4 separate regions of the Homo sapiens genome follow, and all the other regions are linked to region 1. The links are contacts of gene promoters, found by promoter capture Hi-C in blood cells and fetal thymus (Javierre and others, 2016). All regions are on one chromosome and are shown on one strand. The core of a region is centred on a gene start or on the middle of the fragment in contact, and the rest is flanking DNA. Distances in the headings are between cores, read along the strand shown.

Evidence for each region. The method cuts DNA at HindIII sites, captures the fragments that hold promoters and counts their contacts. A CHiCAGO score of 5 or more calls a contact.
Region 2: a fragment that was not itself captured here is called in contact with the fragment with the promoter of SLC68A1 in region 1 in 2 of 17 cell types (activated CD4 T cells and endothelial precursors); the score reaches 6.2 in activated CD4 T cells.
Region 3: a fragment that was not itself captured here is called in contact with the fragment with the promoter of SLC68A1 in region 1 in 2 of 17 cell types (endothelial precursors and erythroblasts); the score reaches 7.2 in endothelial precursors.
Region 4: a fragment that was not itself captured here is called in contact with the fragment with the promoter of SLC68A1 in region 1 in 1 of 17 cell types (endothelial precursors); the score reaches 5.2 in endothelial precursors.

The regions. Positions count from the first base shown.
Region 1 is chr10:102,457,331-102,464,777 of GRCh38, reverse strand. SLC68A1 (solute carrier family 68 member 1) reads right to left here and starts at 3,383. Exons shown (of 10, transcript NM_024789.4): 1 at 3,328-3,383. It overlaps LOC124902493 (a long non-coding RNA gene), which reads left to right. Exons shown (of 3, transcript XR_007062270.1): 3 at 2,718-3,985. RefSeq lists enhancers at 2,301-2,983, 2,984-3,667, 3,795-3,864 and a silencer at 3,305-3,524. The HindIII fragment of the contact is 5,189 bases long and covers 1,942-7,130 here.
Region 2 is chr10:102,134,629-102,142,075 of GRCh38, reverse strand. It overlaps PPRC1 (PPARG related coactivator 1), which reads right to left. Exons shown (of 14, transcript NM_015062.5): 2 at 4,038-4,226; 3 at 3,311-3,457; 4 at 3,096-3,197; 5 at 72-2,976. Among named protein-coding and RNA genes, the nearest start is that of PPRC1, 5.3 kb to the right of the region's middle. RefSeq lists an enhancer at 2,639-3,838. The HindIII fragment of the contact is 1,458 bases long and covers 3,672-5,129 here.
Region 3 is chr10:102,182,380-102,189,826 of GRCh38, reverse strand. No RefSeq gene overlaps it. Among named protein-coding and RNA genes, the nearest start is that of NOLC1, 34 kb to the right of the region's middle. The HindIII fragment of the contact is 2,363 bases long and covers 2,278-4,640 here.
Region 4 is chr10:102,198,166-102,205,612 of GRCh38, reverse strand. No RefSeq gene overlaps it. Among named protein-coding and RNA genes, the nearest start is that of ELOVL3, 24 kb to the left of the region's middle. The HindIII fragment of the contact is 1,949 bases long and covers 1,929-3,877 here.

The DNA of each region.
Region 1 (7,447 bases), core at 2,134-4,633:
CGCTCTGTTGCCCAGGCTGGAGTGCAGTGGCACAATCTCGGCTTACTGCAACCTCTGCCTCCCAGGTTCAAGCAATTCTCCTGCTTCAGCCACCCGAGTAGCTGGGATTACAGGCATGCACCACCACGCCCAGCTAATTTTTGTATTTTTAGTAGAGACAGGGTTTCACCATGTTGGTCAGGTTAGTCTTGAACTCCTGACCTTGTGATCCACCCACCTTGGCCTCCCAAACTGCTGGGATTACAGGCATGAGCCACTGCGCCCGGCCTACAGTAGCCATTTTCTTTCCATTTCTTTGAAGTTTGGTTTCATGATTTTTTTTTTTTTGAGACGGAGTCTCACTCTGTCGCCCAGGCTAGAGTGCAGTGGTGGGATCTTGGCTCACTGCAACCTCCGCCTCCCAGGTTCAAGAAATTTTCCTGCCTCAGCCTCCCAAATGGTTGGGATCACAGGCGTGCGCCACCATGCCTGGCTAATTTTTGTATTTTTTGTACAGACGGGGTTTCGCCACGTTGGCCAGGCTGGTCTTGAACTCCTGACCTCAAGCAATCCGCCCGCCTTGGCCTCCTGAAGTGCTGGCTCACAGGCGAGAGCCACCGTGTGGTTTCATGATCTTTAAAGATCAGTCACTAGGTGGGGCGTTGTGGCTCATGCCTGTAATTTTAGGACTTGGGAAGGCCAAGACAGAAGGATTACTTGGGGCCAGAAGTTAGAGACCAGCTGGGGCAACATCAATCAAAAATAAAAATCATTGACCTTTCTGCCAAATCCATGATTGAAATTGTCTTTCCAGCACCCAAGCTTTATGCCTTTTGCCACCTGGAATATCCTAGCCCCTCTTGTCTGCCATCCATCAAATTCCTTTCTAAATGCCACCTCCACACTTTTGTTCATGCTGTTCCTGTCACCTAAGATACCCTAGGATAACTATATACTATTCCTCAGCCATACAGGGTATGCTTGGCTTTTATATCCATCATCAGACCCCTTACAGCTCTGTTACTATCTGCATTCACGTTCTGTACATGAAGAAACCAAGGCTCTGAAGATTAAATAACAGGCCCAAGTTACAAAGCTAGTAGGTGCTGGAGTCAAGATTCAAAACAGGTTTTGACTAAAACAACAGCGTTCTCACTTCATCATCCCCCCCACACCCTGCCCCCATCTTATCAAATCCTGCTCATCCAGTGTCACGGCTTTCCCAAGCACACCCAATCACGTGTTCTCTCCCGTTTTCCCCCTTATCAGGCATCCAAATGCCTCCCTTCCCCTCCTCCAGCCCACAGGCTTCTTAAAAGCAGGGCTGATACCGGGCGCGGTGGCTCACGCCTGTAATCCCAGCACTTGGGGAGGCCGACGCGGGCGAATCACGAGGTCAGGAGATCGAGATCATCCTGGCTAACACGATGAAACCTCCTCTCTACTAAAAATACAAAAATTAGCCAGGCGTGGTGGCGGGCACGCCTGTAGTACCAGCTTACTCGGGAGGCTGAGGCAGAATAGCGTGAACCCGGGAGGAGGAGCTTGCAGTGAGCCGAAATCGCGCCACTGCACTCCAGCCTGGAGGACAGAGTGAGACTCCGTCTCTTAAAAAAAAAAAAAAAAAAAGCAGGGCTGGGTTAGTCCCGCCCTTGATCCCTGCCCTTTGCCTCCACCAGGCTCCCTCAGCTTGCTCAGTCAATCCCTGCTGGGTCGATTGGCCCCTAAAAGGTCAATATCAACAACATCCTCAGCCCTAGGGAACAGCAGCAGCAGTCATAGGAAAACTGTCATCTTCAGACCCCACTGTGCCCCTCCTAGCTCTGTGTTCTGCTTAACTGTGGGAGTCAGAGAGAAGGGGCAGCCTGGGAGGCTTGATGTGCCTCTCTGAGTAAGACACTAAAGCAAGGCAGCAGGTACAAAGAAGAATAGTGATCATAACAGAGGAACATTTATTAAGCTTTCGCCGGGTGCACAGCACTGTGCTAAGAGACACAGAAACAATCTGGGAAGAGAGCTCAGAGCAGCGCGGGAGAAAGGGGCCACATCAGGAAGGGTTTTGTAAACCTTGTGCAAGATTCTATGCTGAGGACAACAGGTGGGGCGCTGGGGGTGGGGAAGTGACAGATCTGTTTGGAAGAAGCCCTCTAGCAGGTGTCAAAACTCTTCCCCTTCACCCTACCAGGCCCCTGGTAGGTAAAGACTAGAAAGGGATGGAAGCAGCAACATCTCCCTGATTTCTGAACCAACCTATGGTGGGTGGGGGAGGTTGATGAATTTAGTGGCGGAAACCAAGAATGCCGAACTGGGCCCCTGGAGTGAGAGGTATCAGACTGTACAAGAGACATTAGTGCAGAGGTAAAAGCTAAGAAGAGGCATAATTTGGAGTCAGGAGCCCTGGGTCAGGTGTGAACATTATCTTTAACTTACTATCTGAGTCTATTCCTACATCTGTGAAGCAGAGAAAACAATTCCATTCTCTGCCTATCCTCAGGAATACCAAATGAACAAATGAACATGAAAGGTATAATATGTGCCCTTTTCTCAACAGGCAGCTGACCCCTGAATTGTCTGCTGTGTTTCCTGTTTCACTCTCGGGGTCTTGTCTTCCTGCCCAGTCTCCCCACAGCAGGGTCTAGCACCAGGGTTGGGGGGTGGGGGCCCATCCTCCTCCTCCGGCTGGAAATGAGCTTTCAACTTGTTGAGATGGGGACCTTCTCCCTCTCCCTCCCCCACAGGTCCCAGAAGAGGCGACAGCTTCACCTCAGGACCACCCACCCCTCCCAAGCCACTGAGGAGTTTGGGATCAGCCCAGGAGCTCTTCACTCAATAGCTGGTGCTGAAACACGTGTAGGGCTGCTCCCCACCGCCTGCACGTTAAAATCACCTGAGGAGCTGTGCAATAATACCGAGGCCCAGGCCTCACCCAGAACAGTTAAATCGGAATCTCTTCGGGCGGGCCCAGCATCGGTGTTTTTCAAAGCTCCCCAAGTGCCACCAGGGTTAAATGCCTTTATGCTAATGGCACGGATCCCGACCTGACCAGTGCATCCCTCGATCCCAGACCACCAGGGAGCTATTTGACCCACTGCATCCCTTTCCTCCAGACCCCCGGAGAGCCTTTCTGCGAGGATTCCACCCTTGCCCCCTTGAACCCCGCTTCTTCCGCCCGGACCACACAACTCTCCCAATCCACAATATGATCACCCCAAAGACCCCCGCAGATAGCCCCCATGACTCCCAGAGCGCAAAGCATTCCCCTCCCCCTCGGGTCTGTCGTTTGTGCCAGATCGGCCCCAGCCCAGCCCGCTCCTGCCCGCGAGCCCCGGCCGCTGGCCAGCGTCTCACCGCAATCGTAGCCGGCGAAGCCTAATCCCACGGCTGGCGGGAGCCAGGTGCGAGCCAATGCGCCTGCGCGCACTTCTAGGGCTTCCCCAGCCTCTCCCTCCGCCCCCGCCCAGCGATTGGCTCCGCGCGGCCCCCGGGCGCAGCTCCGGCAGGTGACTGCGCCTGAGGCTGCCGCCGCCATGTTTGTCACGGGCGCTTGCCCTTAGCGACCAAAATTAAAAGCGGACACTGGCAAATAGGGTCAGGTTGCCTGGATTCCTGACCGGCTCAACCCCTCTCCTTTACCTCCACGATAGCTTAATGTCATTTCAGTTGAAACCAACACGTTTTTTCTAAGCGCTCACCTTCCTTCCCTCCTTGCCTAGTACTCGTTGGGAGAACAAAGAGAGGTCAGCATCCTCCATTGAGTCTTGTGGTCTGAGCGGATGCACAGCTGCAGCCGACTTGGAGGTGTCAGCGGCTCGATCTGGGACTCCCTGATGCTGCATCATGAGCCCTTCAAGGGTGGACAGGTCCAGGTTGAGCTGTGGGCACCAGGGCTCTAGCCACAGGAGCCAGGGCTGAAGGTGGGAAACAGCCACCAGGGCCTGAATGAGCAACCATGCAGCACAACCTCTTTGTATTAATAACGGCAATAATAAAACCTAAGGAGTACTGAGTGCTTGCTATGTGCACCGTACTACATTCAGAACAACACGTGCATTCTCTTGTTGAGTCCTCACATCATTCCTAGGAGGTAGGCGCTTTTATCCACATTTTATATGTGAAGAAACTGCATTTCAGAGAGATTCAATGACACGCAAACAGCAAGGGCCCAGTCGAGGTGGAACCCGCTATCCTGACTCCCATAACAAGAGTCTTTCCTCTTCCCACACCTGCACAATCCCTCAAAATCAAGTTTTGTTTGGCTCAATGTAGGCTGTGGAGGATGTTTTATGTTTTCTCCCAATTGGCCTGTAAGCCTGGATAGGTTTTTGGGCAAGCAAACAGCACACATTCCAGCTCTGCCTGGTTCCCCTACCTTGGGACACAGGGCAAAAAGCCTGTGGCCTTTGCCTTATGGGGGACTTGGAACTCAACCCCTAGCTCCAACACTTCTTTGCTAAGGGACTTCTTTATTATTATTTTTTGAAACAGGGTCTTGCTCTGTTGCTCAGGCTAGAGTGCAGTGGTGGCATGATCTCAGCTCACTGTAACCTCCACCTCCCTGGCTCAGATGATCCTCTCACCTTAGCCTCCCAAGTTGCTGGGACCACCACCTCACTCCACCATGCCTGGCTAATTTCTAGAATTATTTGTAGAGATGGAGTCTCACTATGTTACCCAGGCTGGTCTTGAACTCCTGGGCTCAAGGGACCCTCCCGCTTCAGCCTCCCAAAGTGCTGGAATGATAAGCGTGAGTCACTGCACCTGGCTGGGACCCTCCTTTTGTGAGTCTGTTTTATGCTTTACAGGGATTTTTCAGACATTAAATGAGAAACAAGGGTGTAGGAGCTTTGTGAACTGCTCATCCTTATGACCTTCATTGATGGTTGTCGGCTAACTTCCTGCAACAGGAATGTTGTCCTCCTCCTAACAACCACAGCAAATGGTCCAATGTAGACGCCTAGTGTCCAGGGGCTACAGATTATTCAACCAGTTCCTGAGGAGCCCCCAGGGATGCCATGAACCTTGCCCCCAGAATCCATCTCCCACTAACCTGTCTCATTTCCCTCCTTCCCAATCTCTCTCTTTCGGACACCCTTCACACTTCCCATGTCACCCCAAGCCACACATACACGCACACACATACATACAACCATCTCTCTTCTAGACTTAGACAACTGCTGAAACTCCTCCTGATCCAGAAAGCCTCATGAGTAGAAGACAGGTGATCATTTTGTCCCTCTCCTCACCTCTTACCTCCATCTGTGCTTTCCTGGCTGTGAGAACAGAAAACCCAGCATTCAGCCTGGGGTCCGGCACACTGGGATCTCCATACATTTGCTAAAGGAGTCTCCCCGCCTTTCTATCTGTGGCCAGCATGTGCTTTTATTTCAAAGCAAACCCGAGTCTTTACTTAGCCCTCCCTGGGTATCCAGTGGGGAAATGGAAATGGGGAGGGCTGGCAGGGGCCAGAGCTGGATGTGACCCAGGAGAAAAGACCTTTGGTCCCTCACAGCCAGGCAAGGTGGCTCACACCTGTAATCCCAGCACTTTGGGAGGCTGAGGTGGTTGGATCACGAGGTCAGGAGATCGAGACCATCCTGGCCAACATAGTGAAACCCCATCTCTACTAAAATACTAAAATTAGCTGGGCGTGGTAGCGTGTGCCTGTAATCCCAGCTACTCAGGAGGCTGAGGGAGGAGAACTGCTTGATCCAGGGAATCGGAATTTGCAGTGAGCCAAGATTGCACCACTGCACTCCAGCCTAGCGACAGAGTGAGACTCTGGCTAAAAAAAAAAAAAAAAGAAAAACAGAAAAAAGAAAAAAAGAAAAGACCTTTGGTCTCTCACGTTGCACTTAATGCCCCACAGTTACACTCTGAGGCCCCTCAACCCTCTGATTATATAGACAACGTAGCCAGTTACCTTTTATGTCAGCATCAGGGCAGGGCCTTGTGATTCTGTCTGATTTCTCTTTGTGGTTGCCAGTCACAGAGCTAACTGGGAGGGGAAATGCAATGAACTAGAGGCCATATCACCTCCCTAACTCATTGAGCCATACCGGAGTCCCTGGACCATGGGACAGATAGATTGTGCACTCTCTGTCTTTGAAATTCTCTCCTCCCTTTACTTCCCACCTCTCTGATCTAGTTTCTGCCATGTTCTCTTCCTACCTAATAATTCCTCCTCAGTCCCCTTCACTGCGGCACTTTCTCCCAGGGCCTCTAAAGGAAAAGGGAGGGTGTCCCAAGTTTCCATCTTGAATACTCATATACTCACTCAAACTTTTAATCCATGCCAGGCCACAGGCTGTGAGGTAAAGGGGACTTCAAAAACAAGATTGCTGGCCAGGTGCGGTGGCTCACGCCTGTAATCCCAGAACTTTGGGAGGCCGAGGTGGGCGGATCACCTGAGGTAAGGAGTTTGAAACCAGTCTGGCCAATATGGTGAAACCCCATCTCTACTAAAAAACACACAAAAAATTAGCCAGGCCCGGTGATGGATGCCTGTAATCCCAGCTACTTAGGAGGCTGAGGCAGGAGAATCGCTTGAACCCGGGAGGCGGAGGTTGCAGTGAGCCAAGATCGCGCCACTGCACTCCAGCCTGTTGACAGAGCAAGACTCTGTCTCAAAAAATAAAAAAAACAAGATAGCTACCTGCAAGAGGCGTTGAGTGGGGTCCAAACAAGCTGGCAGCCAAGATGTCAATAGTGTGATAGGGACCAGATGGAGACAAGCCCAGGGTGGCAGCTGTTACGGTAATTTCACCTAGTACCTTTTCCTTCATGACTACTTCCACACCTCCCATGTCCAACCTGAAGAGAATATCCAGAATGGCCCATCCGAATTCACCATTCCTTAAACTTCCAATCTCCCTCCAGCATTTTCTACCTCCAGGACTGCCTTAACTGTCCATTGAGGTGGCCAAGGCGGAAACATGTGCATCCACCCTCCATCCTACGCACTTCATCAAAACCACCATCTTGGATCAAGTCCAGGTGAATCCTACTCCCATCTGTCTTTTCCATCCCTTGCTCCTGTTTGGTTCTCAGCTTTCATAAGCTAACACGAGAACCTCCTCCATGACTAGCTTCCACCCCCACGCTCTCTAATCTGTCCTCCATTTTGCCCTCAAGTGAGTTTCCGATCGCAAGCTTCCCTGAGCAAAAGCTTCTCAGGTTGCTATATACTGAAAATTTTCATGGCCAGATGCAGTGGCTCACATCTGTAATCCTAGCACCTTGGGAGTCTGAGGCATGAGGATCGCTTGAGCCCAGGAGGTGGAGACCAGCCTGGGCAACATAGTGAGACTCCATCTCTATAAAAAATTTCAAAAAATAAAAAAATCAGGCCGGGTGCAGTGGCTCACAACTGTAATCCCAGCACTTTAGGAGGCCAAGGTGGACGGATCACAAGGTCAGGATATCGAGACCATCCTGGCCAACATGGTGAAATCCCGTCTCTACTAAAATA
Region 2 (7,447 bases), core at 3,151-5,650, 320 kb after region 1:
GGGTGGCTTATCCTATTCTAGAGTCCCCCAGCCAACTTGGGGACTACATGGGGGAACTGTGTGTCACTCACCAATCTCACTGATGAAAGCCTGTACCACATCTTCAGAACCCTGAGTACGTGGGGTAGGCAGGAAGGACAGCTTCCTTAGACGGGCTGGGTGGACAGCAGGCAGCTTGGGGACAGTGCTCTGCCTTGGTGTGGGAACAGCCTTGGTAGCAGGCAAGGGGGGCTTCTCCCTGGGCCTGGTCTCTTGGGTCTCAGGCTTTAGCCTCTCTGATGCAGGCTCCTCAACAGTCACACCTTCAGCAGACACACATGCTAGAGCCTTCATCTGGGGACTTTGCACCAGGGCAGACACCTTGTGTTTCGGATGGGGAGATGCAGGCACTGGCTTGACCTCCACCTTGGTAGGCTCTGTCTGAGGAGCTCCATGGCCAGGTAGCCCAAGACTGAGGGGAGGAGCCATCGACAAGGGAAGTACATTTTCAGGAGGGCCAGCTGGAGTGCCCCTAGACTCCATTTTAGGTTGGGGAACAGCTCTCCCAATGGAGGCTGGAGGCAAAGGAGGTGGGGGAACAGTAGACCAGAATGGAGCATGTTGAGGCCCTGGGCCCCATCCCAAGGGCCCATAGGTACATGTGGAACTGTAAGGTGAGACTGGGGCAGGAGGGGGTGCCCAAGGCACACTGCAAGTGGGAGGCACGGCATAGGCACCAGGAGTACCAGACACTAGGGGCACCGTTGGTGGGGGGGGCAGGCAAGGATAGCCAGAAGGGGACACATGAGGATAACAAGGCCAGGATGGCAAGGGGGCATAGTGAGTAAACGGATCAGGTAGTACTGGCCCCATAGACAATGGAAGACTAGGAGGCTGCAAGGGAGGTGGGGGCAGACTGGGGGGCATGCCAAGCCCACCTGCAGGGAAAGGCAGGGCAGCAGACATCGAGGGAGGTGTGGGCACAGCAGGGGACACAGACTGCACAGGAGGGGAAGGTCTCGCCAACAGTGGCATCTCCTGGGATGGCACCTGCTCAGTGGGAGATGAGGCCACAGGTTTGCTTACAGGTGGCTCAGGACTAGGAGAAGCAGGGCTGGGACCTACAGGCACAAGGCAAATCTCAAGGGGTGTTTCAGGGCTTCTCTGCAGAGCTGTCTTCTTGGCTGGGGCTGGTGGGATGACAAGACAAGGGATGTCTGCCAGCCCTGTGGGAGTCTCTGGAAGGCTAGGCCACTTCCCAGTTGGGGGCTGTGGACTTCTCTCTTCTGTTTCTGCTTGGCGTTGCTGCCTTCGTCGCCGGTACTCAGATAAGCTGAGAGGCCGAGGTCTGGCTTCATGGGTTGTAGCACTGGTACCACTTTCAATTTTCAGAGAATCCACAACCTCTTTGACTTCAGGGATGATGGTCTTTGGTGGGTCCAAGGACTCTGACTCCACGAGGAGCTGGGGTGCTGAACCCCCCAGGGCTGATGACACTGCACCACGTCTGGGATCAGTTGGTCTGGACTTAACTAGCACTGGGTCAACTGGAGTCAGGTCATTAGGAACAGGGTCAACCAGTGCTAGATCAACTGGTGCTGGGCCAGACGGGACAGCATCAACTGGTGGCAAGTTATCTGAGATGGGAACCACTGCAGGGTCAACTGCTGCTGAGTCAGCCAGGACTGGGTTGATCAGCACTGGCTCAGCCGGGAGAGGCTCAACCAGTTCTGAGCTGGTTGAAGCAAGGTCAACCAACCCAGGGTCAACAGGTACAGGGCCAGCTAGAACAGGGCCAACTGCAGTGGGATCAGCTTCAACAGAGTCAACTGGCATGGGGCTGGCTTGGGCAGAGTCGACCAATGAGAGATGGGTTGGTATAGGATTGGTTTGGATAGTGTCAGCCAGCTTTGGGTAGAGGTCTAGAGGGCCTTCTTTAGCAGGACTACTTTGTCCAGCACTTCTCTCCAAGTTCTTAGGGCTAGAATTCTCCAAGGCAGCTGCCCAGGCCCGAGCCCAAGCCCGGGGCTTCCCCTTACCCTGGAGAGGCCCAGACTCTTTTTGAAGTTCTTCCTGAGGCTGTTTCTGCAAGTTGTCTACCTGAGAGGTCACTTCTGTACCTACAGTAGACTGCCCGCGAGAAGATGACCTCAGCCTCCTGGCATAGCCTTCCACACAGGCTGCTGGCTGCTCCTTGCTCTTCTTCTTCCTGCCCTTTCGAGCTCTCTGGGAACCTGGTGCTGCATTGGCAGGTGGGTTCTGAGGCTCCTTGGGCACCACCGGCTCCACGACCTCCCTGGGCTTCAATAAGCAGGCTGAGTCCAGCTTCTCCTCTGAGTTCAATGACAACCCCTCTTTCTCAGAGCAGAGGGTTACCTTGGGCACAGCAGCCTCTGTCTCTGACTCCAGTGTAGGCATAAGCAGCTGCAAGGCAGAACTAGTCTCTAGCGAGTCATCCAGGAGCACAGGCCGGGGTCCAGGAGAGACCTGTCGCACCACAACTGGGATCTCCAGGTCATCGCCAGCTGTGGCTGCCTGCCCCACAATCTCCAGCACTACGCAGCCCTCAGGCAGTGTCAAATCATCTGGCTGCTCCTGAAGCTCATCCTCAAGTGATGCCAGGTGGGTGAGGTTGGGCAGGCAGTATGGGTGCATGGCCCGCACCAGCTCACTCAGGGAGGAGATGCTCTCATCACCAGCTGCTGGCACTGCCATCTCTGCTGCTGTTGCTTTATCTTCCTCCTCAGGGCAGGCCAAATGCATGGGGAAGTCCGGGATACTGCTCACACAGTTGTCAAGCTCCCCGGCAAGAATCTGGCCACTGAAGCTGGCCACCTCCTCCTCTTCTTCTCCATCACTGCGCTGCTGGGGAGGTGGGGATTGGCCCCAGCGTGGTCTTGATCTTGGGGGTCTCCAGCTAGGAAGCTTGGGGGAAGAGGTCTCTAAGAAAGAGGGTGGGGAGAAGTCCCAAGAGGGATCTGGAAGAGACATTTCAACCTGCAGGAGAGAAGAGAGGTCTCAGGAGGAGTTTTCTTTGGGAAAGTATTTTCCAGACCTGTCCCCACACACTCCTCCTCCCACCTGGGAGTTTCTGAAACCCTCTAGGTCAGGCTTACCCCACTCCCTCTACTGCTGCCTGTACTGGGCCCCAGTGGGTCAACTGGGGTGATGAGGTCACGTTCTGGGGGTGTCCGAGAGAGAGTAAGCAGCTTGTGCAGCTAAGAGGGAAAGAAAGACCTGAGATCAGTCTATGCTTCAGAGCTATATGAGTAGGTCCACAGGCATGGGTCTAAACTTTGTACTAATCCCCTTCCCCTGGTCCCACACTCACAGAGGAGCCCTCCCGGGGTGACACAAGCAGCTCCGAATCAGGAATGCTGTCAAATGGAGAAAGGTTCTCAGAATCTGCATTGTCCAAGATCTCCGTCAGAGCCGTGAGCAGCGACACTTCATTCTGGTCCTCCAGAGATAACCTGCTCTGCTCCAGAAAAACAACCAGAAGGTCCTACCAACATCCCTAATGACCTACTATGCCACTAAGGACTGGATATCGAGAGAATCAGTCTCCCAGGTTCAACTCAGCTAATGGGGCAGCGAGAAGGATCTGAATACCAGAAGGCATGGATTCCAATCTCAGCTACCATCCACCAGCTCTTGGTGTCAACAGAGACCTGTCAGACTTGACTCAAGCTTGGGTTTCACACATTCCCCTACCCTCAGATAAGATGTGGGATGCTCAGCAGACAACCATCGGCTAGGCTAGAAATGAGCTGAAAAACAGAGATCAGAATCCTCTGGACATGTAGTTCAGGGGCCCAGACAGTGGGAAAGGCCTTGGACTATAGTCTAAGCTAGGAAAGGAATTCTTACATGGGACATAATCTGGCAGCCTGCAGCCTAATTCCCACTTAGAGACAAAAAATACACTTCAAGGATTCAGGTTGGGCACCCAGGAAGAAGCTAAGGTCCTGGGAGAGCAGAGCCATGCCAAGAATTTGAGCTAGAACCTCCCATGTAAACCTCCTGCTTGAAGATTTCAGAGTCCAGCCCCAGCTCACCTCTCCAAGGCTCCCAAAATCCTCAATGAGGGAGATAAGGGAGGCATCCATGTAGCTCTGCATGGTCCCCAGCAGTGTCTCATCCTGCAGCATTAGCTCCTCCATTTCCAGGTCCTTGTCCCTCAGAGATGGGCCCAGCCGAGAGAGACTGACAAAGCCAGAATCACCCGCCTCCTCATGCAGCAGCACCTGGAGCAGAGAAGAAGGTGAGAAGGGTATGAGCTCTCTGGCAGCAGCTGATAATATGCTCCATAAATCAGGTACCCTCCACTGCTGGGGCCAAACTCAGCAGCAGCAACACTGTCGCCAAACTTCTGGGCTAGCAGAGCAGAGAGAAGCACAACCTATGAGCAAAAACCCCAATAAGGATGGCAGTTTTCAGGGACCTTCTGGGGCAGAAAAATGTTTGGGCTCCAACCAGAAACAGCTAGAGTCACAGATTAAAACCCGGGAGTAAAAACATCAGGAAAATCAAGATTGTTCAGAATCATCTACTGGCAGCAGTGAAGATAACAGTCTGAGGGGCACACCAAAGCAAAAGAGGTCAGCAAGGAGACAGCTTCAGCTCCAACAACCTCACCTACCTCAAATCCCATTTAGTTCTCTGCTTAGTGCAAATCCTACCTTCTTCAAGAAGACACCCCAGCTTCCCCAGCCCACGGTGATCTCTCCTCACAACTCTAAAATCACAGACTTTTCTGCAGCATTAACTTTTCTGGTAATCACACCCCACCCCCTACCCCCATCCCCATGACACTCATGGGTTCGGTCTCCTGGGTTCAAGCGATTCTCCTGCCTCAGCCTCCGGAGCAGCTGGGATTATAGGCGCCCACCACCACGCCCAGCTAATTTTTGTATTTTTAGTAGAGACAGGGTTTCACCTTATTGGCCAGGCTGGTCTCAAACTCCAAATCTCAAGTAATCCGCCCGACTCAGCCTCTGAAAGTGCTGTGATTACAGGCGTGAGCCGCCACGCCCGGCCGACACTTATTTTGAAGGCCCAACAGTGAGACACTCAACCTCTCAATGGTAATTCCAAGGGAAGGGCCTCTTCTCCACTCCTACCAGATGAGAGCAAGTGAAGAGAAAGCTTGATTCCCTAGATGGAAAGGCCCCGCCCCACACTCCTCTAAGAACTAGCAGCATTTACGGCCTCTCGTGTCAGGCATCAAGCAGCCCGCCCAGACCTGTCAAGAGTGTGGGTGTGGGCAGGGCCGGAAGGGACCAGAATGGTAGTGGTGAGGCCAGAGCCAGGGGGATCTCCACTACAGTAGTCCCCCCTTATCCTAGAGGGATACATTCCAAGATCCCCAGTAGATGCCTGAAACCACAGATACTACCAATACATTGGTATGTATTGATACAAACAATACATACCAACGATGAAGTTTAACTTATAAATTAAGCACAATAAGAAATTAATAATAAAATAGATTAAAACAATATACTATAATAAAAGTTATGCGAATGTGGGCTCTCTGGCTCTCAGAATATCTCACTGTACTGTACTCATGTATTTTTAGACCCCAGTTGACAGCAGGTTAACAGAAACTGTGGATAAGGGGAAACTACCGCATAGGAAACATGAAGTAAAAAGGCCTGAGAACAGGATCACATACAGACAGGCCAGACCTTCCCTTTCCTCTTCTGCAACAAAGTGAAATTCCGCACCACTTCCAAAAGAAAAAAGCAACAGGTGTCTTCCACACCCCCACCCCCCACACCCCGGCAATATATACCCTCCTAACAGAGCTGAGTACCAACGCCCAGGAAAAGGAAAGGCTGGTTAAGGACGCGTTAGGAGGCCAGGCCCAGAGAATAAGCAAAAAGTGGTAGGTTTTAGGCACTAACTCCTCCCAGGCCTTCACAATCCTATAATTACAAACCAGCAGCTGAATAGCACCTGGCTCTGCAAACACTCCAGGGTGAGCCAAGAGGCTGCAACTCCATTTGCTCTGCCACCACCTACCTACCAGAGCCCCAGCGACTAAGCTGGAATCTCAAGACAATGCCCAGCTCTCTATGAACCACTCATCTTCACCTCCATCAGGTGTCCAGTCAGAGACACACCCTCACACCTGACCTCACCCATCACTCAATTCCCAAACAGCACAGCTCCCAGAGTACCAAGATCATCCGAGTGCTAAGCCCAGGCTGAAAGTAAGCCAGCCATCAGCACCTCTAACTTCAAAAACCTCCCAAGTAGCTTTCACCCACCAAACCTGCTCCCTCCAGGGTTCAAAAACAGTCAGAAACTTTTTAAATATGTATCTGATCACTGCCTGAGACCCTCCCTAAATCCCTTCAATGGCATTTTACTGCTCTTAGCATTAGGTTTAAACTCTTTAATATAGCTTACAGGCCGGGTGTGGTGGCTCACGCCTGTAATCCCAGCACTTTGGGAGGCTGAGGTGGGTGGATCACTTGAGGTCAGGAGTTCAAGACCAGCCTGACCAATATGGTGAAACCCTGTCTCTACTAAAAATACAAAAATTAGCCATGTGTGGTGGTGCTTGCCTGTAATCCCTGCTACTCAGGAGTCTGAGGCAGGGGAATTGCATGAACCCAGGAGATGGAGGTTGCAGTGAGCCAAGATCACACCACTGCACTCCAACCTGGGTGACAAAGCAAGACTCCATTTCAAAAACAACAACAAAACAACAAAATATATATATATATAGCTTACAAAAGTCCTGTCTTCCCCACCAGACCTCTGCTCCAGCGTGTCCTCTCCCACTACTCTGTAGTACAGGTCTCGGTTTCTCCAATAAGCCATGCTCTCTTCCTCCTTGAGGGCTTCACTTTTCCCTGATTAAAGGTTTTCCACAGTTTTAACATCTCAGCTTTAAATGTCCCGTCTCAGACTCTGCAAAGTAGATCACTACTGCCAATTACATAATCCCAAATATCCTGCACTTTTGTCTCATTCATTATTATTTATCATCGGTCTATCCTGATTAAAACATAGATCCTGAGGGATAAAGACCATGTTTATGTGGTTTACCAGTTTGTCCCCTGTGCCTAAACATAATGGTATTTCAATAAATAACTGGCTGACTGACCAGCTCACATATACCCATCTTTGGTTTTCGGGGGAAGGGAATGACAATCTCTCCATGAGATCCTCTCCAATCCCAAATTACTACTTAACTATTATAGCTGGATCTTGGATCCTTCCTGACTCTCCCTGTGCTATTTGGGAATTCAGTGATGGGTGAGGTCAGGTGTGAGGGTGTGTCTCTGACTGGACACCTGATGGAGGTGAAGATGAATGGTTCATAGAGAGCTGGGCATTGCCTTGAGATTCTGGCCTAGACCCTGGGGCTCTGGTAGGTAGGCAGCACCAGCCCCAAAAGATGTGACCTCTGAGAAAGTAGGGGAGAAGGGATCAGCGCTCCCAAATTCTTGCC
Region 3 (7,447 bases), core at 2,210-4,709, 280 kb after region 1:
GAAACCCTGTCTCTACTAAAAATACAAAATTAGCTGGGCATGGTGATGCATGCCTGAAATGCCAGCTACTCAGGAGGCTGAGGCAGGAGAATCACTTGAACCTGGGAGGCAGAGGTTGCAGTGAGCCAAGATCCGCCACTGCACTCCAGCCTGAGCAACAAGAGGGAAACTCCGTCTCAAACAAACAAACAAACAAAAGAATCAGCAATATTTCAAACAAAAAGCCATAAAAACTATTTCAGTTTCAGTTTCAATTCATGCAATCAACTCTTGCTCTGTTTCATATTGAGTTAGCAATCTTTATGAACACACCAGCTTTTCAATTACAGTCCTGGAAGTTTTCTCTCTAATTCAGTGGCACAAACCCCAAAGTTATCAGAAACCTGCAAATCAAAAGTCCTTTTAATGAACTCCTCCAAAGAAGCAAGCCCTGGACTGTAGCTGATTGTAAGTCACTTTTTGAGAAGAATCAAAGCAAAACATCGATTGTGGTTGACAAAAGTCTTTTTTTTTTTTTTGAGACAGAGTCTTGCTTTGTTCCCTGGCCTAGAGCACAGTAACACAATCTCAGCTCACTGCAATCTCTGCCTCCTAGGTTCAAGCAATTCTCCTGCCTCAGTCTCCTGAGTACCTGGGACTACAGGTGTTCGCTGCAGATCTGAGCCTCCCTGTGCTCTTGTTGGGGCCAGGAGCAGGCAGGATCCATCCCTTCCTGGGTGCAGCTGCAGCAACTTGGTCCACAGCTCCAGATACAGGCCTCCAGTTCCACAGAGCAGGCAGGAACCCCACCCCGCTGTGGGGTGCTGCAGCCGCCCAAATTGGGGCTGCAGACCCAGGCATCCCTGCACTCTTGGGGGGCCTGAAAAGGCCCCCTCCTTGCCCTTGTAGGCTCAGAGTTGCCTGCTCCTGCTGCTTGGCCTCTCCCTGCTCTTGCTGCTTGGCCTTTCCCTGCTCCCGGTGCCCACTCTGATCTTGGACCAGGCTTGGGGCCAAGTCCAGGGGCTGTCACAGTGCTGCCAGGTGTGTGCAAGCTCAGGGCAGTGCTGACACGCCAGTCCCCTGCTGCCCTGCCCCCCTCTGGACTTTGGGCACTGAGGAGTGCAGGAAGGGAAGTTGAGAGGGGCTGAGAGTGACTGGTGCTGGCCTGCAGGTGCCCCTTGGTGCCAGCAGCCTGGGCACTATGGATGGCTGTGGAAGGCAGACAGGCTCCTGGGTGGAAGGGGGCAAGTCCCCAGTGAAGCCCCACCTTCATGCCAGGACAGGCCTGAAGTGTGGGGGCCAGGCTGCCATTCCTGCTGATTGGAGGAGGAACTCATGGTGCTTTTTCCTGTGGACCAGTCAGCACACACTCCCTTCCCCGAGCCACATAAAAGCCCTGGGCTCAGCCACAGCAGGGCAGAGGTTGGGGAGACAACAAGAGGACCAAATGCAGAGAGGAGCTATTCCCCCTGCTGATAGCTAGAGACAATGGGATGGCCAGCTGGCAGAAAGGAGCTACCCTCTCTGCTAAGAGCTTCAGAGACCAGAAGAGACATTGCGTGGACCAGCTTCAGAGAGGAGCCATCCTCTCCAGGGCCTCCTCTCTGCTGAGGGCAGCATACGTCAAGATGACCAGTAGCAGACAGGAGCTGTCCTCTCCAGGGCCTCCTCTCTGCTGAGAGCAGCAGACGTTGGGACAACGAGTAACAGAAAGGAGCTACCCACTGTGCGTCTCCCCTGAGCTGCTCTAATACTAAATAAAGCTCCTCTTTGTCTGGTTCACTTGCCTGAGTACCTCATTCTTCCTGAACGCAGGACAAGAACTCAGGCAAAGCACCACTGGCCACAGAGGTTTCTGGCCAGAAAAATTGACATCCAGTGATCCCGTAATACTACTTTTCAAAAAATTTTCATGAAGATCATTTGTTTTGGCTGGGTTTATAATTTTATAACCTTCTATGCCAAACCCTGAAACCTCAAAATATCTACCAGAGACAAATATAAAATCCAGACAAAAATGTATGCTCACAATTTTGAAGACATTTTTATTTTCATTTTACCAATAATTTTACAGCCAGCTGGTTTCGAAAAAATTTACTTAACTCACACGAACTTGAAAATTGCTTTGACTTATTTAATTTATGAGTGCTGTTTTACTTATAAGCCAATTTGGTAGACACAACATATACCAATAAGGGTACATACAAATAAACACATCTAAACATGAATATACACACATAAACAAAGATCCAATAGCTTTTACCTTGGAACTATAGCTATGAGATAGCAATACAAGCTTACTGGTTTTACATGGTTACACTTTGTCCCAGTAGGTAATTCAGTGAAGGCTGTGAATCAAAATTTTGGGTATAGTAGTTTCCATGGCAGTTTGATTTTTAAAGGCCAAACCTCCTCAGACTCCAAAGAACATTGGGGTCAAACAGCAACAAAGGAGAACATCACATACCTGCCAGGCCCAACCTTGCTTAGAACAGCAGCACAAAAGCCTGGATACACACAACTCCATCCCACTTTCCCATTCAGCAGCAAACTCCAGATTCCAAACAGCAAACGCCAGATTCCAAACAACACTGGGGCCAACAGTATTGCAAATGAATATCAGTTTACCGAATTCTAACTTCTCATGACTATATAAAACACACACAAATGATCACCAAAACACAATCCAACTGCTGCAGCAAAAAACAAGCCCCAAGAGTGTCCAAACTCAAACAGTCAGGGTGCTTCCTCTCTTCATTGGTTGGGCTTGATCAAATGCAAACAAAAATTCCTTAGGAAATTTCCCAAATTGAGAGGAACTGATCCCGCTGTCTGGTACACACACGAGGCACTCACTTGCCCAGACACAACATACAATTATAAACTAGCCCCCAAGAGTGTCCACATAAAAACAGTCAGGGTGTTTCCCTCCCTCAGTCAGTTGGGCTTGTTCAACCTGCAAATGAAAATTCTTTTAAAAATTTCCCAAATTGAGAGGAGCAAATCCTGCTGTCTGGGCCCACAAAGGATACTCACCTATCTGGATGCAGATGTCCAATTTCGAAGGCTATTCTTCCAAGGCAATCAGGAGGATGGTTGGGGCTGACCATGGTGGGGCCAGAGAGAAACTGAAACTCACTTCCAGCTGATATTGGTCAATAGATGGGCATGGTGCATGCCTGTAGTCCAGCTACTGGGGAGGCTGAGGCAGGAGAATAACTTGAACCTGGTGAAGTGGCTACATTGTCTGGGGTATATGCCCTCAGGTATATATTTATCATTGTCACAGGCCAGGAAAATTTAGGACACAGACACACACAAGGGGTTTAGGAGCAGAGGTTTAATAGGTAGAAGAGAAAAGAGAAATAGCTTCCTCTATAGAAGAAGAGGTCTCCGAATGGAAAGGACTGGCTGGTAGTGAAGACACCAGTTTGAGGAGGCAGTGTCTGATTTAGTGTGGACTGTTTTAATGTGTCTTGATTTACATAGGGCTCACAGATTGGTTTGATCAGCTATGACGTTTACATAGTGCTCAGGAAAGGCTGGTTGCCCCACCCTAATCTTGTTACGCAAATGGCCTTTCCAGTTGATCGACACCATCTGTTTTTTTTTTCTTTTTCTTTTTTTTTTTTTTTTTTTTTGAGACAGAGTTTTGCTCTCGTTATCCAGGCTGGAGTGCAATGGTGCGATCTCAGCTCGCTGCAACTTCTGACTCCCCGGTTCAAGCAATTCTCCTGCCTCAGCCGCCTGAGCAGCTGGGACTATAGGCGCCCACCACCACGCCCAGCTAATTTTTATATTTTTAGTAGAGGCGAGGTGATCGACACCATCTGGTCTGCTCCTTACAGTACACATGACTGGCAGAGAAGGGAAGATGAAGTCGCTATCTTGAACATGTCTACTCCTTAGTTCCTGCTGGCATTCACCCTTGCAAACTCCCAGGTTTCAGGCTGCTCTTTGTTAGAAAATGATTTGGGGCAGCTTTTCATTAAAAAAGAAAAAGAAAAGCCTTACTGAGGATTCCCGTACCCTGGCTATCTGCCCAAGTGATTTCTTCTGACTCCTATAGCACTGGGAGGCAGAGGTTGCAGTGAGCCAAGATTGTGCCACTGCACTACAGCCTGGGTGACACTGTGAGACTCCATCTCAAAGGAAATAAAATAAAATAATAAAATAAAATAAAATTTGTCAGGCAGCTGCATAAGAGGGCTTCTGAGACTCCACCCATGGCAGCTGAGCCACAAGCAACATGTTCCCAGTCAGGGAACCAAAATATGTTATTGAAACATCAGGGGTTCAGTCTAGGTCCTACAGCTCGCTGCACAGAAAGCCAATGACTGAGATGACAAGTATTGCCAAGGAAGAAGGCTTTAATCGGGTGCTGCAGCTGAGAAGATGGGAGCTCAAAACCTCAAATCCATCTCCCTGATCAACTAAAACAAGGGTTTTATACAGAGGGGAAGAAATGTAATGTGTAAGAAAACAGGAAGTAGGGAGGGCCAAGGAAGTAATCATGATGAATGAGGGGTCCAAAGTCTCATTGTCTGGATGTAGTGATCTGGTGAGTTTCAGTTCATTGATACTTTTTTTTTGCGGGGGAGAAGCCTGAAGGTCATTTACTAATGAAGGAACTCAAATAAAGCAAATATAAGTTTCAAGCTTTAAGACCAGAAAGATAAATTTTTATGTTTATCCAAAACAATAGTCTCTGGAACTATTGGGTTGATTTCATTTGTTTGTTTTTTACCTTTTAAGTTCAGGGGTACATGTGCAGGTTTGTTATATAAGCAAATTTGTACTTGTCACAGCGGTTTGTTGTACAGATTATTTCTTCACCCAAGTATAAAGTCTAGTATTAGTTATTTTTTCTGATCCTCTCTCTCCTCCCATCTTCCACCCTCCAGTAGGCTCCAGTGTCTGTTGTTCCCCTCTTTGTGCCAATGTGTTCTCATCATTTACCTCCCACTTATAAGTGAGAACATGCAGTGATATGTTTGGCTCTGTGTCCCCACCCAGATCTCATCTTGTAGCTCCAATAAGATGTGGGAGGGACCCAGTGGGAGATGACTGAATCATGGGGGTGGGTCTTTCCTGTGCTGTTCTGGTGATAGTGAATGGGTCTCAAAAGATCTGATGGTTTTAAAAATGGGAGTTTCTCAGCACAAGTTCTCTTTTTGCCTACTGCCATCCACGTAAGTTGTAACTTGCTCCTCCTTGTCTTTCTACTGTGATTGTGCGGCCTCCCAGCCATGTGGAACTGTAAGCCCATTAAACTTCTTTCTTTTGTAAATTGCCCAGCTTCAGGTATGTCTTTATCAGCAGCATGAAAATGGACTAATACAGTAAATTAGTACCAGGAGTGGAGTGTTGCTGAAAAGATACCTGAAAATGTGGAAGCAACTTCAGAACTGGGTAACAGGGAGAGGCTGAAACTATTTAGAGGGCTCAGAAGAAGAGAGAAAAATGTGGAAAAGATTGGAACTTCCTAGAGACTTGTTGAGTGGCTTTGACAAAAATGCTGATAATGGGTCAGGCATGGTGGCTCACACCTGTAATCCCAACACTTTGGGGGGCCGAGGCGGGCAGATGACCTGACATCGGGAGTTCAAGACCAGCCTGACCAACATGGAGAAACCCCTTCTCTACTAAAAATACAAAATTAGCCAGGCGTGGTGGTGCATGCCTGTAATCTCAGCTACCCGGGAGGCTGAGGCAGAAGAATCACTTACCTAGGAGGTGGAGGTTGTGGTGAGCCAAGATCACACCATTGCATTCCAGCATGGGCAACAAGAGCGAAACTCCGTCTCAAAAAAAAAAAAATGTTGATAGTGATATGAACAATAAGGTCCAGACTGAGGTGGTCTCAGATGGAGATGAGGAACTTGTTGGGAACTGGAGCAAAGGTGACTCTTGTTATGTTTTAGCAAAGAGACTGGCAGCATTTTGCCCCTGCCCTAGAGATTTATGGAACTTTGAACTTGAGAGAGATGATTTAGGGTATCCGGTGGAAAAAAGTTTCTAAGTAGCAAAGCATTCAAGAGGTGACTTGGGTGCTGTTAAAGGCATTCAGTTTTGGTTTTGTTTTTTTTTTTCAGACGGAGTCTTGCTCTGTTGCCCAGGCTGGAGTGCAGTAGCACAATCTCGGCTCACTGCAAGCTCCACCTCCCAGGTTCACACATTCTCCTGCCTCAGCCTCCCGAGTAGCTGGGACTACAGGCGCCCACCACCACGCCCGGCTAATTTTTTGTATTTTTTAGTAGAGACAGGGTTTCACCGTGTTAGCCAGGATGGTCTCGATCTCCTGACCTCGTGATCTGCCCACCTCAGCCTCCCAAAGTGCTGGTATTACAGGCGTGAGCCACCGCGCCCAGCCGGCATTCAGTTTTAAAAGGGAAACAGGGCATAAAAGCTTGGAAAATGTGCAGCCTGACAATGCGATAGAAAAAAAAATCCCATTTTCTGAGGAGAAATTCAAGCTGGCTGCAGAAATTTGCATGAGTAATGAGGACCCGAATGTTAATCCCCAAGACAATGGGGAAAATGTCTCCAGTGCATGTCAGAAGTCTTCACAGCATCCCTTCCCATCACAGGCCAAGAGGCCTAGGAGGAAAAATTAGTTTTGTGGGCTGGGCCAAGGGTTCCTGTGCTGTGTGCAGCATAGGGACTTAGTGCCTGTAATCCCAGCTACTTGGGAGGCTGAGGCAGGAGAATCACTTGAACCCAGGAAGCAAAGGTTGCAGTGACCCGAGATCTCACCACTTCAGCCTGGGCTGTGTCTCAATTTAAAAAAATAAAAATAAAAAATAAACAAGGCCAGAAGCAATGGCTCACGCCTGTAATCCCAGCACTTTGGGAGGCCAAGGCAGGTGGATCGCGAGGTCAGGAGATCGAGACCATCCTGGCTAACATGGTGAGACCCCGTCTTTACTAAAAATACAAAAATCAGCCAGGCGTGGTGGTGGTGCCTGTAGTCCCGGCTACTCAGGAGGCTGAGGAAGGAGAATGGCATGAACCTGGGAGGCGGAGCTTGCAGTGAGCCGAGATAGTGCCACTGCACTCCAGCCTGGGTGACAGAGCAAGACCCTGTCTCAAAATAAATAAAATAAAAATGCCAAGGCCAGGCGTGGTAGCTCATGCCTGTAATCCCAGCACTTTGGGAGGCCGAGGCAGGCAGATCACGAGGTCAGGAGTTCAAGACCAGCCTGGCCAAGATGGTGAAACCCCGTCTCTACTAAAAATACAAAAATTAGCTGGGTGTGGTGGCAGCGCCTGTAATCCCAGCTACTCGGGAGGCTGAGGCAGAGAATTGCTTGAACCAAGGAAGCGGATGTTGCAGTGAGCCAAGATCGCGCCACTGCACTCCAGCCTCGGCAACACAGCAAGACTCCATCTCAATAAATAAACAAACAAACAAACAAACAAATCTTTCATTCTGTAGCATTTCAAATTAAGGGGAGAAAAAAATAAA
Region 4 (7,447 bases), core at 1,654-4,153, 260 kb after region 1:
TTTTATATTTTTAGTAGAGACAGGGTTTCACCATGTTGATCAGGCTGTTATCAAACTCCTGAGTTCAGGTGATCTGCCTGCCTTGGCCTCCCAAAGTGCTGGGATTACAGATGTAAGCCACTGCATCTGGCCTAAGGTTTGTTAATTTTGTTGAACATTTTTTTTTTTTTTTGAGACAGAGTCCCTCTCTGTCGCCAGGCTGGAGTGCAGTGGCACTATCTTGGCTCACTGCAACCTCCACCTCCCGGGTTCAAGTGATTCTCCTGCCTCACCCTCCCAAGTAGCTGGGACTACAGGCACACACCACCATGCCCAGCTAATTTTTGTATTTTTAGTGGAGATGGGGTTTCACCATATTGGCTAGGATGGTCTCAATCTCTTGACCTCGTGATCCGCCCACCTCAGCCTCCCAAAGTGCTGGGATTACAGGCGTGAGCCATCGAGCCCAGCCTTTTGTTGATCTTTTCAAACAAACAACTTTTGGTTTTTATTGATTCTCTCTATTGTTTTCTCTATTTCTTATTTCATTTATCTCTGCTCTAGTCTTCATTTCTTTCTTTCTGCTACCATTTGTTTTTCTTTTTCTACTTCCTTAGATTGTAAAGTGTGGTTGTAGATTCAACATCTTTCTCCCTTTTTCTTTTTTTTTAAATTTTTTATTGATATATAATATTTGTACATTTTTATGGGGTGCATGTGGTATTTTGTTATATGCATAGCATATGTAATGATCAAGTCAGGGCATTTAGGGTATATGCCATTGTGAAAAAACATTTAAATGGTTCATTTTCAGGGCATGATAAATCTATGTACTAGCAGCCACCCTGCAGATGTGACAAACTGAATGGCTCATGCACCTAGAAAATCATCATAAGAGAACAAGATGTAGAAGAAGGGTCAGCCCATAAAAGGTGAGAAAGTTTCATTATTGGGAAGTTGAAACATAGGCAGGGAAGGGGACCAGAGTATAACCTTATAAGGGGATAATGAAACTTAGGTGACGTCTGGGAAGATTGTAACCCTGTAGTACTCAACCAGTAAGGAACTGGGGGAAAGACTTGCATGCTAGGAGATAAATTACCTGCTGTAACTGCCCCAGGTGTGCCTGCCTACCAGACATCTGATCTTGCAAGATTGCCATTAAAAGTCTTGCTTCTGCTGCACTTCCTGTCTCTGAGTCCATTATTTGATTTTGGACAGGTGAGCGTTTCTCACAAACTTGGGGGCTCATCCAGGATCTCTGTGCCTGCATGGAATGGGACTCCAGCCAAGAGGGGAGACACATCTCACCCAATTTTAGGTGGCCCGCTCTGTGCAGGTGTCCCAGCTCCCCACATAGGCCATAGACAAACCTGAGATTGTTATTCAGCAGGCAGCAGAGGTGACATAGGGAGAAAAGCAGACACTATGGCAACCAGGCAACCTTGTGCATGAGCCAAGGTAGGAAAACCAGACTGTAAGTACCACCTTGGTGGTTGGGCATTTTTGGAGGTTGAGTGTGTGTGACTGAGACATACCCTAGATACGAAGCAAGCACGGAGTCCCAATCCACAGTTCCGTTCTCCTGCGAGGGAATCGGCAGGAAACAGATGAAGCGATTCTCAGGGTGTGCAAGAAACCTCCAGTAGGAGGGTTGAGTACATAGGGAAAGGCCCAGACACAGAGACTGGCCAAAAATGGGAAACAGAAATTCTAGGCCTAGGGACAAAGGAAAGAGGGAGCCAAAGAGACTCCCTCTGACATTCCCCCAGATAGTCCTTTGGGGTGAATGAATGTTGCAGGTTTGGAGGGACAACCCTGCAGCCAGGGACAAGGAAAAGCAAAAGTTGATAAAGTATTGCTGTTTTACCTGACCCAAAGACCCCATTCATAAGCCTTCAGTCTTTTGGCCTAAGGTTGGCTCAGATGAGGATTGGGTGTGCCAAGCTTTAATTCTCTATGTGAATGATAAAACCCCATCTGCACAGGAGAAGATAGGTTATGCTGTCTGTGGGATCAAGGAATTAGCCCCCATGTTCCCCCCTCAAAGAAGAAGAAAAAGAGCCTAGTAAAAAGCCCTTGCCCAGTGAAAAGCCCTGGGACCCCCTATCATGGGAGCCCCCTCCATATGTCTCACAAAATAGGGGACAGGGAGATCAAGGGGCAGCAGGAGAGTTAGAGAAAGAAAGACCTGGAGACCATGGGGGAGCTGAACCAACTGCTCCTTTAGACCCTTATCCAAATTTAAGAAAAGAATTAGAATAATGTAAAAGAGATATTGAGAACTTCCCTATCCCCTCCAAACAGCAAACATCTAGCATGTTCCCTCTTAGGGAAGTTCCCACAGGACAGAAAGAGATTGGCTTTGTAAACGCTCCTCTTACAAGTACTGAAGTTAGGAATTTCAAGAAGGTAATGAAACCACTCCTAGAGGATCCCCTTCATTTAGCAGACAAGTTGTACCAATTCCTAGGACCAGCTTTTATACCTGGACTGAAATAATGCCTATCATGAATATCTTATTCACAGGAGAAGAAAGAGGAATGATTAGGAGGGTGGCAATGACCATCTGGAAGAGGCAACATCCTCCGAGGAAAGGAGTCTTGCCAGCCAAACAAAAAATTTCCAAATGTCAATCCCGAATGGGATAATAATGATCCCAGGGACCAGGCCCAAATGCAGGACCTCAGGGAACTAATAATTAAAGGGATCAAATAATTGACTTCTAGGACACAAAATGTCTCAAATGTCTCAAAGATTCAACAAGAAAAAGAGGAAACTCCCTCTGCATTCCTGCAGAGGCTCAGAGATCAGATGAGAAAATACTCTGGATTAGATCTGGAGGCCCCAGTAGGGCAAGGCCTTTTGAATGTTAACTTTGTAACTAAGAGCTAGCCTGACATTACAAAAAAATTACAGAAGATTGATGGTTGGAATGAAAAATCAATTGAGGAATTACTGAGGGAAGCTCAAAAAGATCTTTGTGAGAAGAGAAGAGGAGAAACAGAAACAAAAAGCGAAAATAATGGTTTCCACTGCAGAGGAGGTAGTCAGGAAGAAGTTAGATCAAGACCCCTCTCAGAGGAGACAAGAAAATACTAGGTTTCAGCAAAAAGACAGAAGAGAAATACAAGGAAAAACTCCTAAGACTGTAAGTGGATGTTACAAGTGTGGAAAACCAGGACATTTTAAAAGAGAATGTCCAGAATGGAAAAAGGAAGAGAAGTAATCCACTGTATGACTTTTGATGAAGATTAGGGAGTCAGGGGTTCCTTGTAAGTAGGTCCCACCAGGAACTCTTGATAAATTTGAGGGTGGGACCCGATGGGGAAGAAGTAACATTTTTGCTTGATACTGGGCTGTCTCTCTCCTTCCTAATTAATCAACCAAGGGGTACAGGACTCGAAGGAAAAATTGACAGTATCAGGGGTAAAAGGGGAGGGATTTCAGGTTCTGATATTCAAGAAAATGGTAATTAGATTAGGACCAGAACAAATAGAGGGGTCACTCTTATATGTTCCTGAAGCAGGCAACTAACCTCCTGAGTTGAGACCTGATTGTGAGATTGGGTTTAGGATTAGGAATAGAGGAAGGACAAATAAAAGTAATGATGGGCCTCCTAACAGAGGAGCAGGAAAGAAAAGATGTCCCCTAGACTTTAGGAGTAGGGATCTCTTTGCCTTTGAATGGGAAAATCCCATAACTGGCAGAAAACAACAGTACTGCTGGACTGTGCTGCCACAAGGCTTCACAGATGCCTCAAACTTATTTGGTCAAATCTTAGAAAAAGTCCTGAAGGAATTCCAACCTTCCAGGGGAAACCAGTTATTACAATATGTAGATGATCTTTTAATTTCTAGGGAGAGGAAGACCAAAGTATCAGAAACCACCATAAGCTTGCTTAATTCCCTAGGAGAAAGGGGGTTGCAAATCTCTAAGAACAAATTGCAGTTTGTAGAAAAATAAGTTAAATATTTAGGATACCTGATTAATGAAGGGAGGTGGAGAATAAACCCAGAAAGAATACCAGGAATAGTGGGCTTCTGCCTAAGACAAAGAAAGAACTCTGAAAATTTTTAGGTTTAACTGGCTACTGGAGGTTATGGATTGACTCATGTGCTCAAAAGACAAAGATCCTGTATCTCAAGTCACAAGAAGAGGAACCTGATCCTTTGCAGTAGTCCCCAGAGGAAATTCAGGCAGTGAAAGTGAGAGGTGACAGCGTGCTGGCAGCCCTCGCAGCCCTCGCTGGCTCTCAGCACCTCCTCGGCCTCACTGGCCGTGCTTGAGGAGCCCTTCAGCCTGCAGCTGCACTATGGGAGCCCCTCTCTGGGCTGGCCGAGGCCGAAGCCAGCTCCCTCTGCTTGCAGGGAGGTGTGGAGGGAGAGGCATGGGCGGGAACCGGGGCTGCATGTGGCACTCACGGGCCAGGGCGAGTTCCAGGTGGGCACAGGCTTGGCAGGCCCCGCACTCCGAGCGGCCGGCCAGCGCCGCCGGCCCCAGGCAGTGAGGGGCTTAGCACCTGGGCCAGCAGCTGCAGAGGGGGCGCCGGGTCCCCCAGCACTGCTAGCCCGCCTGTGCCATGCTCAAATTCTCTCTGGGCCTCAGCCGCCTCCCCGCAAGGCAGGGCTCAGGAATGGCAGCCCGTCATGCCCGAGCCCCCACCCTGCAGTAGTCTCCCGCATGGCCTGAGCCTCCCCGACAGGTGCCACCCCCTGCTCCACAGTGCCTGGTCCCATCGACCGCCCAAGGGCTGAGGAATGCAGGCGTACACCCGCTGCCCCGGCGAGGGATCCACTAGGCAAAGCCAGCTGGGCTCCTGAGTCGGGTGGGGACTTGGAGAACTTTTATGTCTAGCAGGAGGATTGTATATGCACCAATCAGCACTCTGTGTCTGGCTCAGAGTTCGTGGATGCACCAATTAGCACTCTGTATCTAGCTAATCTGGTGGGGACTTGGAGAACTTTTACATCTAGCTAAAGGATTGTAAACGCACGAATCAGCACTCTGTGTCTAGCTAAAGGTTTGTAAATGCACCAATCAGTGCTCTGTACCTACCTAATCTGGTGGGGACTTGGAGAACTTTTATGTCTAGCTAGAGGATTGTAAATGCGCCAATCAGTACCCTGTGTCTAGCTAATCTGGTGGGGACTTGGAGAATCTTTATGTCTAGCTAAGGGATTGTAAATACACCAATCAGGACTCTGTGCCTAGCTCAAGGTTTGTAAACACACCAATCAGCACCCTGTGTCTAGCTAATCTGGTGGGGACTTGGAGAATCTTTATGTCTAGCTAAGGGATTGTAAATACACCAATAGCACTCTGTGTCTAGCTCAAGGTTTGTAAACACACCAGTCAGCACCCTGTGTCTAGCTCAAGGTTTGTAAATGCACCAACCAGTGCTCTGTGGGGACTTGGAGAACTTTTGTGTCTAGCTCAGGGATTGTAAACACACCAATCAGCACCCTGTCAAAATGCACCAATCAGCAGGATGTAGGTGGGGCCAGATAAGGAAATAAAAGCAGGCTGCCCCAGCCAGCAGTGGCAACCTGCTCGGGTCTCCTTTCACACTGTGGAGGCTTTGTTCTTTTGCTCTTTGCAATAAATCTTGCTGCTGCTCACTCTTTGGGTCCGCACTGCCTTTGTGAACTGTAACACTCACTGTGAAGGTCTGCAGCTTCACTCCTGAGCCAGCGAGACCACGAACCCACCAGAAGGAAGAAACTCCAAACACATCCAAACATCAGAATGAACAAACTCCAGACACTCTGGCTTTAAGAACTATAACACTCACCGCAAGGGTCTGCGGCTTCATTCTTGAAGTCAGTGAAATCAAGAACCCACCAATTCCAGACACAAAAGAGCTAAAGCAGGCCCTCCTTACAGCCCCGGTCCTGGCCCTCCCATCTTTAGAGAAACCATTCCATCTATTTGTAACAGTAGACCAGGGTGTGGCTCTTGGGGTGCTCACTCAAACCTGGGGAGGGAAGAGGCAACCTGTTGCTTTTGTCTCCAAGCTTCTCAATCCTGTCTCTTGAGGATAGCCCAAATGTGTGCAAGTAGTAGCTGCCACAGCCCTGCTGGCAGATGAGAGTCAAAAGTTAACCTTTGCTGGGGCCTAACAGTGAGCACCCCACATCGGGTCAGGAATATATTAAATCAAAAAGCCAAGAGATGGTTAATGGATTCTTGGATTCTAAAATATGAAGCCATGTTACTAGAAAAAGATGATTTGGTCATAACAACAGATACTTGCCTGAATCCAGCCAGTTTCTTATGGAAAGGAGAGAAGAACAAAGAGGCATCAGTCCATAACTGCCTTAGATATCATAGAATACCAAATCAAAGTTAGCCCAGACCTTAGAGAAGCTCCCCTACATGGTAGGATAAGCCTGTTTGTGGATGTGTCATCCAGAGTGATAGATGCCAAGAAACATAACAGTCATGCTGTCATTAATAAAAATAAACACTCCTTATGTGAGGAAGGTAGATTACCTAATGGCTGGTCAGCCCAAACTTGTGAATTATATGCTCTTAACCAGGCCATAAAGCTCCTTGAAGGCCAAGAAGGCACTATATATACTGATTCTAAATATGCCTATGGGGTGGTACACAGTTTTGGAAAAATCTGGACAGAGCAGGGCCTAATAAATAGCAAGGGAAAAGAATTGGTACTTGGGGAACTGGTCAGACAGGTTTTAGAAACCTCCTTCTTCCAGCAGAAGTAACCATAGTTCATATAAATGGTCATCAGACAGGCTGGGCGTGGTGGCTCACACCTGTAATCCCAGTACTTTGGGAGGCCGAGGTGGGTGGATCACCTGAGGTCAGGAGTTCGAGACCAGCCTGGCCAACATGGCAAAACTCTGTCTCTACTAAAAATACAAAAATTAGCCAGGCTTGGTGGCAGGTGTCTGTAATCCCAGCTACTCAGGAGACTGAGGCAGGAGAATCACTTGAACCTGGGAGGTGGAGGTTGCAGTGAGCTGAGATCACGCCATTGCACTTCAGCCTGGGAGACAAGAGAGAGACTCCATCTCAAAAATAAATAAATAAATAAATAAATAAATAAAAATAAAAGTAAATGGTCATCAGAAAGGAAACACTATAGAAGCTGCAGAAAACAGGCTTGCAGATGAAACTGCTAAGCAAGCCTCCCTGGAGAAAGAAATTAGACTATTTAGCCTGATCCCAGACATCCCTAAGGTAGTATGAAGACCCCAGCTTACCAGAGAGAAGAAAGAAGAATTAGACAGGATAGAGGGTCACTCGAACTAAAGATGGGAAATGGGTACTTCCTGATGGGAGAGAAATGATAAGTAAACCCCTGATGACAGAACTAATGTCTATATTACGCAAAGGGAGTCATTGGGAACCCCAGGCTCTGTGTGATGGAATACCTAGGAATAACTGGATCCACACCCTCACTAAACAAATATGTGGAAGTTGTGTAACTTGTCAAAGGACA